4 separate regions of the Homo sapiens genome follow, and regions 1, 2 and 4 are each linked to region 3. Evidence: promoter capture Hi-C in 16 types of primary human blood cells and fetal thymus (Javierre and others, 2016). All regions are on one chromosome and are shown on one strand. Each heading gives the region's core, a stretch centred on a gene start or on the middle of the fragment in contact. The rest is flanking DNA. Distances are from core to core; before and after follow the strand shown. Region 1 overlaps DYNLRB2-AS1 (DYNLRB2 antisense RNA 1). Region 2 overlaps CDYL2 (chromodomain Y like 2). Region 3 holds the start of CDYL2 (chromodomain Y like 2). Region 4 overlaps CDYL2 (chromodomain Y like 2).

Region 1 (2,879 bases), core at 273-2,772, 240 kb after region 3:
AAATAAGGCTTAGTTTCTGAACTCAAGAAGCTTTGAGTCAAACAGTGCAGCTCTGAGCAAGATACTGCCCTCATAGGAACCTCGTTTTCCTTATCAGAAAAATGGGATTAATAAGGCCTGCCAGGCTAGGTAATTTTGAAATCAAGTGGGGTGACATTCATAAATAACTATAACAAAGCATAGACTCCTTTACTCTACACTGCGTTGCACACGTGCTCTAGGAACCTGGTTTGAGCCCAGGTTGTGTTCACACTGGGATCCAGGCACATCTAGCCGATGAATAAGCTGTCTCTATCAGAAATACGTTTGCATGCATGTTTAGGAGCTCCCAGGAAAGAACTCACCCTAAGTGAAGAGGAAGTCACGACAAGCAGGCTTAACTTGGTAAGACCACCTTCTCTGAGTGAAAGAACCATTCTGATTAGAGAATGAGGTCTATATCTAGGAAACTTTCTGAAATGTGAAAACTCAAAGAGTAGACTTCCCAAGGTGCCCAAACAGGACTCCCGTCTTCTAATTCCAGACGGACCTTGCAGGTGGCAATCGTGCATGGGAGGACATGGTGGTGGCAGGTGAGTGGGGTTGTATCCTCTAGTTCAGTGGTTCCTGTAGGAAGTGTCTGTGATGTTCAGAACTCAGTAGTTCTGGAAGGAATGGCATTGTCCTGTGGACATGTGAGTGCCAAGGGAAGAGGGTTGGAGGAGGTGTAGGGGAAGGTCATGGAGATGCCACATGGAAAATGGGTGGACTGGCTCACTGGCAGCCTGAGGCTCCCCTGGGAACTCACAAATGCTTGGGGGCATGAAACCTGGCTGGGGAATCAGGATTCCCTACTTTGGGTGGATTTTACAGGAGTCTGCTTTCTCTTTCTTTTAGTCAGGATGGGGGCATACCTTGACTTATATACAATAGTCCTTTTCTTCTCTCAGGGTTCCTGACTGTGGCTGTGGGTGGCCTGGACTTGGCAGTGGAGGGAGATTCATTCAGAGAAGAGCGATGGAGCTGCTATGTTCACCCACTTTCCCAATTATAGCCCCTCTCCTCCAGGGCATTTGCTGGGGGTGGGGGGTGGCGGAATAAAGTCCCCTGACTTGGAGTAGTGCTTCTCAAAGTTTAATGGGAATGAGAAAATCCTAGGAATCGGGTTAAATGCAGATTCTGACTCAGTAGGTCTGGGATAGGGCCTAGGATTCTGCATTTCTGACAAGCTCCCAAGTGGTGCTGGTGCTGCTCTTCCCTGACCACACTTGGAAAAGAAAGACACGAGAAGTGATAATCAGAATCCTGGGAATCTGGATTCTTAAGTACCAGGATTTTTAAGTATCATAACTTGCTGTTATGATCAGGCAAGTGTGGAAAACCCTGGAATAGATCATCTTGAAAAATAAGCTGAGATTTGAAAGGGTGTTTTTAATTCAAGTTTTTATGAAGTATCTACTTGGTGCTGGTTAGATCTGGGAGGGGCTTGGGACACTGTCCAGGTATATTGAGTGCTATGTGACTTTTCATTAAATAAAATTTGTGGGTTTTGGTGGGAGAAAATGCAGGGAGAAGATAGATCCTTGTTTGTAAGTCATTTCCAGATGTGAAGAGAGATGGGGAACCCACACAACTAACTGATTTTGCAGGAGGTGACCATGGTGGTAATTTCAGACACCTCCAAAGAAAGAATGAAGTCATCAGACTTGATGAGGGGAGTAAAACTGGAAGGATCTAGGGTGGCCTGACAGTATCAAAACTTTCAAAAGGCCATCCCAGTTCTGACTTTAACCATTGCAAATGCAGAATTTGTATTGCTTAGTTCAGTGGTTTCCTAAGTCTGCTTGTATAGCCCTGGGGTTCCATGAGACTCTGGTGAGGACCACTGTGTGTTAAGTGTGGAGTGGCCAAGGGCAGGATGAGAGAATGGCATGGAAAAGGAGCCCCGTCCTGCTTCATGGAGAGTAGCTTTGCTGGCCTTTGATCAAGGTTCTGTGTGAGCAAAGGCTACTGTTTCCTAAAGCAAGGTTTGAAAAGCCACTTGCCTAGAGCATGCCCTCCTTTGGGGTTCCTTCTGTCCAGATAGTGCTTTCTCTCTTCTTTCCACCGTAAACTCCTATTCCCCCTTTATAGTCCAGCTCAGGTGTGTCTGTCCTAATGCAGCTTTCCTTAAACACCATGCACACCAGCAGTCCTTTTTCTGCATTTCCACTGTCCCTCACTCATACTTCATGTGCTGCTATTAACTTACTGTATTGAACATGTACATCTCTGCATGCCTGTTTCCCTTATTACACCAGGAGCTCCTTTAGGCAGACCTGACGTCACCCATGTCTGTTCACGGGCATAAAGTGTGCCTGGCTTAAAGCAATTATGGTTAAATGCTTGCAGAATGGGATGCCACCTGGTTAATGGTTCTCTGATTAAGAAGCACACCTTCTTTCCGTTAGAGCCTTAGATGGAGCCAGCGTTTTTATTAATTCAAGATTTCATAAACGGTTAATAATCTCTCTTTGCCTCTCCTGGAAATTGCCAGGTTTGGCAAGAATAGGTAAACATGTCCGATAATATCCCCTTTCCTGTCCTCCTGCCCTCACTGACGGTGTTGTGCTTTTAATTTTTTTTCTTGGCGATACTAGACATTTACTTTCCTCCACTTCCCCTGAGATATGACCGAATACCCAATGCAAAGGTTCAGAGTTGGTGAACAACTTAAAGCTCATATTGAATACAAGATCTGGCTGCTGGCACCATTTGGGGCATTGCAGTCTGATGATTCTTTTCCCAGAGATGTGGGACTTGCTGATACAGGCCTCCCATTTATGCTCCCCAAAGGGTGCAGCTGAGATGGCTGGAGCCTGTTCTGAGAAGCCGGGCCTTCTGCTCTCCTGGCATTGATC
Region 2 (3,015 bases), core at 410-2,909, 200 kb after region 3:
AGACTACTTACTTGCAGGGTTATCATGAGAAGTAAATGAAAGAATTCAGGAAAAGTATTTCTCTTAGATCCTGTTGGATAATGGTGATCATAGTGGCATTATTATAGTTATTACAAATATTACTACAATCATTACTCATTACTATTATTAGTATTACTATTACTGTTATGAATTTTTACTCACTACTATGATTATTACTATTGTTACTGTGATTATTGCTCATTACTAAGACTATTACTATGATTATTGTTCATTAATATGATTACTGTTACTATGATTATTACTATTGTTACTATGATTATTGCTCATTGCTGTGATTATTATTGCTATTGTTACTATGATTATTGCTCTTTGTTGTGACTATTATTACTATGATTATTGCTCATTACTATGATGATGGTAGTAATCATCATAGTAACACTGTGGGATTAATACTATATTTACATAATATGTATATATTATATATAATACATATACATAATTATATATTATACATATACATAATATAATATGTATATATTATAGTGTATATACATATATACATGTGTTTACCTATATACATATGTGTTTATACGTATATATAATGTATATAATACATAATATGTGTATATACGTAATACTTTAGTAATGAATAATCATAGATCATTTATGATCATTTATCATAGCTGTGGACAGCAGCTACTACATTTATAACCATGATTACTATGATCATTATTACTCATTACTACAATTATTACTATGGCTGTGATGATTGTTATTCATTCCTATGATTTTTACTCTTTACTATAATGATTATGAAGGTGATAGCCTTGAGTGTTATTAGTTGTTACTACCATGATTACTAACATTGTAGCCTGAACACGGGGCATTGCTCTCAGGGTGAGTTGTATGTGACAACCATTCGTTCATTTCATCGTCTTATTCTGTGTTCTCAGTGATCCTTGAGTTATTGCCAACAGATCATGAAAATGAATCACGGGAGGTTAAAACAGTGTCTCCCACACTTTTTCATGACACCTATAGAAAAGGACTCTGTGTTTGTATCACCATTGGGCAACAGGCAAGCCTCTAGTGGTCTGGGGTGACATGGGCCCCACTGAGCCATCCCAGGGCCTCACAGTGTTCACGTCTTGACACATCTGGGATCCATTCATGGCCGTGCTGGAAACATGGGACTGGGAAGGCCCAGGCTGGAGGAGGCAGCCTTCTCTGGCTGTGAGTATGGGAGGTTGGCCAGTGCCCCATGGGCCAGGTACCTAGTTCTGGAGCAGAGTCCCTGGTGCCCGGCTAATCAGGCCTGTCTATTTCCCTCTAGGTGTTAGAGGAGTCCAAATGCCTCGTGCGGAGCTTCCTGAAATCAGTGCTGGAAGACGTGAACGAGAAGGAATGCCTCATGCTCAAGCAGCTCTGGAGCTCCTCCAAAGGCCTTGACTCCCTTTTCAGCTACCTGCAGGACAAAATTTATGAAGTCTGAGGGGCCCCAGCTCACGGGCCCCCAACTTCCAGCTCTGCCCTGTGTTTCGGAAACCAGAGCACAGTGTCTGCCCCGGCCAAGGAGTTTGTCAAGGTGTCTCTTTATACGTAGGGTTGTGTCCATTTCCTCGTGTCCTTTGGTTGCTCCTCCTTGGTTTGATTTTGTGTAATGGATGGAAAACGCAGCATACTTGGCCTCCCCCACCTCCCTGCCCTTCCTGGCCAGAGAGCTGTCCAAGGCTGTATCTTCCCAGGGCTCCGCCAAGCACCGCTGTCCTTTCCCCACTTGCTGAAATGCACCATGACGGTCCAGGAAGGGGAAGACCACTTTCACATTCTTCTGACTCAGGCTGTGTCTACACAGTGCCTCTGACTTGGAGACTTGGCCATCATGGCTCTCTCTGGTTGTATTTAGATCGGGTGTCAGAGGACGACCAATCTTAGGGAATTTCCAGACCAATGAGCAAAATGATTGTGCACACCTGGCCTCAGTCTCCTTTCCGACGCAAATCTGTGTGACTATTAGGGCTTGGTCTTAAAACCCAATTGAGTGATTTGCAAACCCAGATATTGTACATTTAGAAATGTTTTGTTAAATATATATTTTTAAAACAATGTAAGTGGAAATTCTGATAATTTATGTGTATTATATGTAAAGCTAGTTTTGCAAAAACAAACTACTAGGGAAATGTTTTTTCTTTCCTTGGACTTGTTTTATTTATTTATTTTTGTTTATATATTGTGATGTCTGTTGTTCACACAGATACTATTTTCATACTACCCTGGACCAAATCCCACACAAGGTTCATGCCGTTTGGTGCATTCTAGCAATGAACCATGTAGAAATAAAGTTTAGAGAGATGAAAACAGAAGGATTTCTGTGGACAAAAGGAATAGCGCTGCACCTCTGTGTAAAACGGTTCTCAGCTGTAATAATAGAATACTAGTTCCTTAGGTTTGTCCTTAGGAGACATCTTGGGAGAGTTTTTTCTTCCCTCTGCTGTCTTTAAGGAGTTAAAGGGCCCTCTTAGCCTGAATGATCCTGAAACAGACCCAGTCCCAAATTGCGTGATGTTGGGCAGGAGTGGGGATAGGCCCTACCTGAGAATAGCATACTGTCTAGAATAAGACTTCTTTCTTTGGGGCAAATGACTGAACTTGGATCCTGCAGTCTGTTGCTTCCATGTGATCAGTGATTTCTGGTATTGGCCAGGGGGATGGGGAAGAGTTCCCACTCTGCTGAGCTGTCTGGAGGTCTGAATCTTTTCCCTCCAGAAGCTGAAATGACTCATCTGTTTTCTAGTTTTTTTATGTACATAGGGAGCAATGACCAGGAATGAGATCTCCTTGCCCCTGTGCCCCTGGGCTGCAAGGGGACTCCAGCAGCTGTGTTAGACCATCAGATTCAAGTCCCTGGATTAACTACAGAGAAGGAGGGATTGGGGGTTGTGGTTTTGAGTGGTGAGGAGAAAGTTCAGGAAAACCTGAAGTTGAGAGCAGACAAATGGAAGGGATGTGTTCTGCGTGAGGTTTAAACCATGG
Region 3 (2,926 bases), core at 244-2,743:
TTCCTTATCTTCATGCGGGATTTTAACTAGAAATTGGTATAAAATTTGTTATATTGGCATAGTTCGAAAAACAATCACTGTGTACCTACTCTCTCTCAGGAACAGTGGAAGATGCTTGCGATACAAAGATAAACAAGCCCCTATACGAAGAACAAGAATGTTCCAGATGGATTCAATGTGGAAGGACATTCTAGGCAGGGGGAACAGCAAATGCAAATCCATGTGTCCTGGAATGAGCCAGACATGCTTCAGGTTCCATGGAGTTTTTTTTTTTTTTTTTTTTTTTTGGATTAAAAAATTTGGTGACTTTTCAAAGTTTGACAACCTCAGGATTAAACAATTTATCGAGCCCCTCTGCCATCTCACTCTCCATGAGGGCAGTCCAGGTTGAGACTCAGATACAAATCACCTTTATTGAGTTCTGCTGGGATGGACAGGTCACTTCATGTATACGTAGATCCTCTCCTTAATTCTATTTAAATCACTTAGGTGACTATCACCATCTCCCATCAGGGTTCGGTGACCTGCCCACAGCCTCCCAAGTAGAAAATGATCCAGGGAGCATGTGAGTTAATGATACATCACATCTGGAGCCAGGCAGGCATTTCATGGGTGGGGATGAAGATCTTCCCTCCAATTTCAGAAGTCTGACCTTGCAGGTTCTGAAGTAACTATATACATAAATATTTATAAGGAGAACCCTTTAAGCAGAGGGGTGACCATTTATCCATGAGAGATGGCTTAGGAACGGATTTGGGTTTTGGAGAGCTTCTCTAGCTCCTCCAGCTCCGCAGCCTGTCACACGCAGGATGACCTTTTAGAACAACTGAGTGCTCCATTACACTCCTCACTTGCGGATTCAAACTGTCTCTGGGCAGGGTCCCAGTTTTGCCTGTCCAGGGACACTGTGCACTTGGGTTGACTTTGGTAAATGTTTGAGTAAGGGATGAGTGAATAAATTCGGGGAGAGGGGTTGTTGAGGGAAGGCCACCCCTGGCTCTAAAGACTTTCCAGGGTTTATGGGGTGGCCACGCCTGTCCTGGATCCCCATGGTGCCTCTGGATGGGCCATTTCATCCTTCCTCCCTGTGGCCTCCACATCTTACAACCCAGCCTGGAGGGAGGGGCCGCGCAGCCCCGAGGGGCCAGGTCTCCCAGGCGGCGTCCACTCCCCTCGAGGGTGGAGGAGGTAGGTGGGGACCCCGGGCCGGCGGGGCTCGGCTGGGGCCCCTTCCCTGAGGTCTGCAGCCGCAGCCCTCTACCTGGCTCCCCGGCCGCCCCTTCGCGGCCCCAGATCGGGCGCACCCGGCGGGCACCTGGCCCGCCGCCCCCCGGGGGCCCCGCCAGCTGCTCCCGAAGCCGGCCCGGGGTGGCGGGGCGGGCCCGAGCGCTAGTCGACTCTGGGACCGGTCCCCCGGGGCGCGGCCGGGCAGCAGCCCCCGCCTCCCCGCCCCGGGGGCCGGGCCGGGCTCCCGGGGGGCGGGGACTCGCCCAGTGGCAGCAGCGTCCGGGCCGGCGGCGGGCGCCGGGCGGCTTCCTGCAGGCGGCGCCGGGGCGAGCCGTTGCCGGCTGCAGCCACCGCCGCCGGGTCGCCGGGTCGCGGGGGCCGCGGCGCTCGGGCCGCGTCCGTGCCTCCCGGGCGCGCTGCGCGGCCGTCGCTGCTGCCCGCGCTCGTGCCGCCGCCGCCGCCGCCGCCGCTGCTGCCGGTTACGCCAGCCCCGCCGCCGCCCGCTCTGATTCTGCGCATAGGCAGCCCCCAAGCCTGTCATTCTGCAAAAACACAGTTTACTCAACACACCACACACACTCGCACACACACGCGCGCACACACACGCGCACACCGGACCCCGCGCGCACACGCACGGAGGGCGCGAGCGAGCAGACGCGCACACCGGCGAGCCAAGTTCCGCAGCCTGGCATGGCTTCTGGGGACCTTTACGAGGTACGGGGACGCGGGGGCGCGGGCCGGCCCCAGTCAGCGGGCGGCGGCGGGCGGCGGCGGCGGGCGGCGGGGACCGGGCCGGGGCCGGGGCCGGGCGCAATCCGGAGTTGCCGAGCCCGCGGCGGCGGCGGCGGCGGCCGGAGGGTGGCGGGGGCCGGGCGCGCCTCCCGCCCGCCGCCCGCCGCCCGCCGCCTCCCGCGGCGCCCGCGCCCGCTCCCTCTTTCTCTTTCTCTCGCACACACACTCTCTTACTCCATCTACTTTGCGGCCTTGGAGGGGAAGGAGGAAGCCGGGCGGAGCCGGGGCGGGGGAGGTAGCGGTCCCGGGGAGGTGTTTCTCGCCCGACGAGCCGCCTCGAGTACAGAAAGTACAGGTAAAAGTCGGCGCCGGACGTGCTGGGAATGCGGGGGGGCGCGCCGCGGCCGGCGGGGGTGTGGGGCGGGGGTTGCGCGGCCCGGCTGGGCCGGGGGCGCGGGGGAGGAGGGGGGCGGGCGATCGGAGCGGAGCCTGGCCGGGGCGAGGCGGGGTCCCGGGGGGCTGCGAAGGGGGAGGCTGGGTGGGGGTTCGGGGGGACAACCGCCAAACCGCTCCCCGGGGTCCCCGGGCCACCTCCCTCACCCCCCACCTGCTGCCCCCGCACCAGCTCGGACGCCCTCCGGGCTCGGGCGTGGGGGTGGCCCTTGCGGGTGTCGTGCTCCCTGGGGGCGAAAGGGGGCGCTGCGGAGGGCCCTGGGTGGGAGGAGAACGTGGAAGTCTGAGGTGTTGGGGACATAGGACACAGATGCCAGCCCAGCGCCCAGTACTCTCGTCACCCTCAGTGGATACCTGGCTCCAGGTCCTAATGAGTAGTGGCCAGCGTTGGATACTCTCATGTCTTCCCAAAAGTGGCGAAGGAAGACATTAGTCTGGCATCTTTCAAACAATGGAGGAACACCCATGGTCTTTGGGGAGCAAGGGCTTAGGAACACAACTGTTACTGCTTTGG
Region 4 (3,045 bases), core at 209-2,708, 180 kb after region 3:
GAGTGAAGAATTTGTTGACAGTTGTTTTCCTCAGCACCTTGACAATTGTATTCTGCTACCTTCTGGAATTTATTTCTGCTATGTAGAATTTGCCTCCGGTTAAATATTTGCCCTCTGTAGGTAAGCTTTCTTTTTCCTCTGGATGTATTTAAGGTTTTGCTTTGTCTTTGATGTTCTGAAGTTTAAATATGATATGTCTGTGCTTGCGTGTATTGTTATTTCTATTGCTTAGCTTTTTGTTGTAGTTCTTAAATTTTAGTATTCAAGTCTGTGGTAGATAGAAGCCCTCTCCCCAAGATGTTCATGTCCAAATCTCCAGAATCTATGACTATGCTAGGTTCCATGGCTAGGGGGATTTAAGGTTTCAGATATACAATTAAGGGTGCCAGTTAGCTGACCTTAAAATAGAGAGTATTCTAGACTACCTGGATGGGCTCAATGTAATCACAAGGGTCTTTAAATGTAGATGAGAGAAGCAGAAGAATCTGTCAGAGTGACACAAACTGAGAAGGTGAGGAAGACCCAGCTCGGCATTATTGCCTTTGATGATGGAGGAAGGGGCCAGGAACCAAGGAATGTGGGTGGCCTCTATAAGCTGGAAAAGGGAAGAAAATGATTCTCCCTTAGCGCCTCCACAAAGGAATGCAGTCTTGCTGACAACTTGATTTTAACCCAGTAAACCTGCATCAGACATCTGACCTAAGGGACTATAAGATAATAAGTTTATGTTATTTTATGCTGCCAAATTTATAGTAATTTTTTACAGCAGCCATAGGAAACTAGTGGATCTTTCATCAATTCTGTTAAATTCTCATCCTTTATCTCTTTCAATATTGACTTTCTCCTCTTCTCTGTGATCTCCTGATAGAATCCCTACAGCACCAATTTTAAATCTTAGCATTCTTGTCTTTAATCTCTCCGTTATATTTTCCATCTCTGTTTTTCTGTGCTACGTTTTGGTCAATTACTTCAGGTCTTTCAGTTACTTTATGCTCCCTTTAGCACCACCTAATCTGCTGTTGATCTCAGCAGATGTCCATGACTTTGTTTTTCATTTCCAGAAGTTTCTTTTTCTCCTCAAATCTATTTTTTCCCCATATTCTCCTGTTCTTTCCTTATTGTTCATGTCTGTTTTCCTCTCTGTGATTATTTGAAACATCCCTATTTTACAGTCTCTTTTGGATCCTTGTATTACTTGAAGTCATGTTATGTAATCCGCTCATTTGCTGAGTATGCCAACTTGTATTTCCCAAGTGTTTTGTGATTTTTGATTGTGAGCTCATCTCCTGCTAGGGTTTTTTTTCCTGTGTAATTCCCATGCGGTCTGGGTTGCAGCTTCTCCCCAGAGTACTTTTACATTCATTTCCATCAGACACCTCAGGGATATTACTAGCCTGTGTCCAATTTCTGTGTTAATTTTTTTATCTTGTGGATTCTTCCCCATGTGGGTGTGGTAACTCAGAACTTCAAATCCACATACAGGGCAGGTATGGAGTTTTAGCTTCTCATGGGAGAGTTTTCCTACAGCAAAAATAAATTATTTGCTGGAGTGGCTTGTCCTGACTGTGGTATGGCAAATAGGTAGCAGAAGGACTAGAAGGGCTGAGCCTGTTTGTGGTAAAGCCGATTCCATCATAGGCTTCCTGTCTCCAAAGCCTGTACCTTTTCAGCCTGGCCAACTGCCTTGAGTCCTTGTGAATACCAGGCACCCAAGAGACATTGTGTAGTCTAGATACGCAGTGTTGCTGCAAGGTTGTGATTGGAAGGAGTCGGGGAGTATGCAGGGGTGTGAGGGGGATTGCTTCAGTCAGTACACAGACTTGGAGGGTCTGGATGATGCTTGGGCCTCAGAACGTAGCATGTGGCAGGAGCTCACTTTCAGATCCTGGCTCCATCCTAAAATCCACAGTCTGGGAGGGGAGAAGGATCTGCTTTCCCCTGGGCATCACAGAGCTCATTTCCTGCTGCTCCCGTAGCCACACTGCTATCATGTGGAGGTCTTCAGATGAAAAGCCCTGATGCTTTGAGAGGCAGCCTAGCCTGCGGTGAAGGACATGGTCCCCAAAGTCTGACTTCCTGAGTCCTAGTCTAGCTCCACCCCATACTTGCAAACTTCTCACAGTGACTGTACTTTGATTTTGTCATTCATAAAATGGAGCTTCAACAAGTGACTCCCCCAGAAGGCTAAGTGAGTTCATATCGTAAAGCAGCACTTCTCAAACAATAACATGCATATGAATTTCCTGCAGGTCCCATGAACATGAAGAAACTCATCCTGTCGGTCTGGGCTGGGGTCCAAGACTCTGCATTTCTAGGCAGCTCCTAGGAATGTGAAGCTGCTGGTCTAAGGACCATACTTTGAGTAGTGAGGTTTGAAAGTGCTTGGGGCAGAAGCTGACCTGTTCCGTAGGGTCAGTATATAAACGGGGACATCTTGCAGGGTATGTGCCATGCACTGCACTAAGCAGTCTACTTGCATCTTGTTTGTTGGTTCATCTGAGGTAGCTCTGAATTTTACAAATAGGGAGACCAGGAGAGGCTATTGATTTCACCCCAGAACACCCAAGATACTGTGGGGTAGAAGTGGAGCTTGTGCCCAACCGTAGCCCCAGAGGCGCATGTGGACCTTCTGGAACCCCCTGTCATACGTCGGGGCTGGGGCTTTAGACTCTGCATTTCTGGCCACCTCCTGAGGGATGTGTTGCTGCTGTTCCAAGGACTACACTTTGAGCAGCGAAGTTTGAAAGTGCTTGGGGCAGACAGAGCTTGTACCATCTCCGCAGGAAGCTTTGAGCTGGCCAGTCTGTTAGTGCAGGCTCTGCCACTTCCTGACATGTTGCTTTGAGAAAGTCACCTTTCTCTCTGAGCCTCAGTTTCCCTTTCTATAAAATGGAGCTAATAATAATGCCCACCTCACAAGGGGTTGGGGGTGCAAGTACTCATGGGCAAGTGCTCTGTAACCTTCAGGCTCATCCAAAAATAGTTGCTCATGTGATGAGGAGCTGAATAGCCGGGCTGCATGCCTTTGAAGAGCGCAAACACAGT

Evidence for each region. The method cuts DNA at HindIII sites, captures the fragments that hold promoters and counts their contacts. A CHiCAGO score of 5 or more calls a contact.
Region 1: a fragment that was not itself captured here is called in contact with the fragment with the promoter of CDYL2 in region 3 in 4 of 17 cell types (megakaryocytes, non-activated CD4 T cells, endothelial precursors and 1 more); the score reaches 6.9 in megakaryocytes.
Region 2: a fragment that was not itself captured here is called in contact with the fragment with the promoter of CDYL2 in region 3 in 2 of 17 cell types (endothelial precursors and erythroblasts); the score reaches 5.5 in endothelial precursors.
Region 4: a contact is called between a fragment that was not itself captured here and the fragment with the promoter of CDYL2 in region 3, in 2 of 17 cell types (endothelial precursors and megakaryocytes). The highest score is 15.7, in endothelial precursors.

What each region holds. Positions count from the first base shown.
Region 1 is chr16:80,558,930-80,561,808 of GRCh38, reverse strand. The region is part of intron 1 of DYNLRB2-AS1 (DYNLRB2 antisense RNA 1); the gene reads left to right. Among named protein-coding and RNA genes, the nearest start is that of DYNLRB2-AS1, 2.8 kb to the left of the region's middle. The HindIII fragment of the contact is 2,980 bases long and covers 33-2,879 here.
Region 2 is chr16:80,602,847-80,605,861 of GRCh38, reverse strand. CDYL2 (chromodomain Y like 2) reads left to right here. Exons shown (of 7, transcript NM_152342.4): 7 at 1,316-3,015. The coding sequence ends at 1,474. Among named protein-coding and RNA genes, the nearest start is that of LINC01227, 32 kb to the right of the region's middle. The HindIII fragment of the contact is 8,354 bases long and covers 1-3,015 here.
Region 3 is chr16:80,803,165-80,806,090 of GRCh38, reverse strand. It overlaps CDYL2 (chromodomain Y like 2), which reads left to right and starts at 1,493. Exons shown (of 7, transcript NM_152342.4): 1 at 1,493-1,941. The coding sequence starts at 1,918. RefSeq lists silencers at 1,213-1,272, 1,293-1,602, 2,213-2,282, 2,563-2,712. The HindIII fragment of the contact is 3,614 bases long and covers 1-2,926 here.
Region 4 is chr16:80,622,803-80,625,847 of GRCh38, reverse strand. The region is part of intron 3 of CDYL2 (chromodomain Y like 2); the gene reads left to right. Among named protein-coding and RNA genes, the nearest start is that of LINC01227, 52 kb to the right of the region's middle. The HindIII fragment of the contact is 2,662 bases long and covers 128-2,789 here.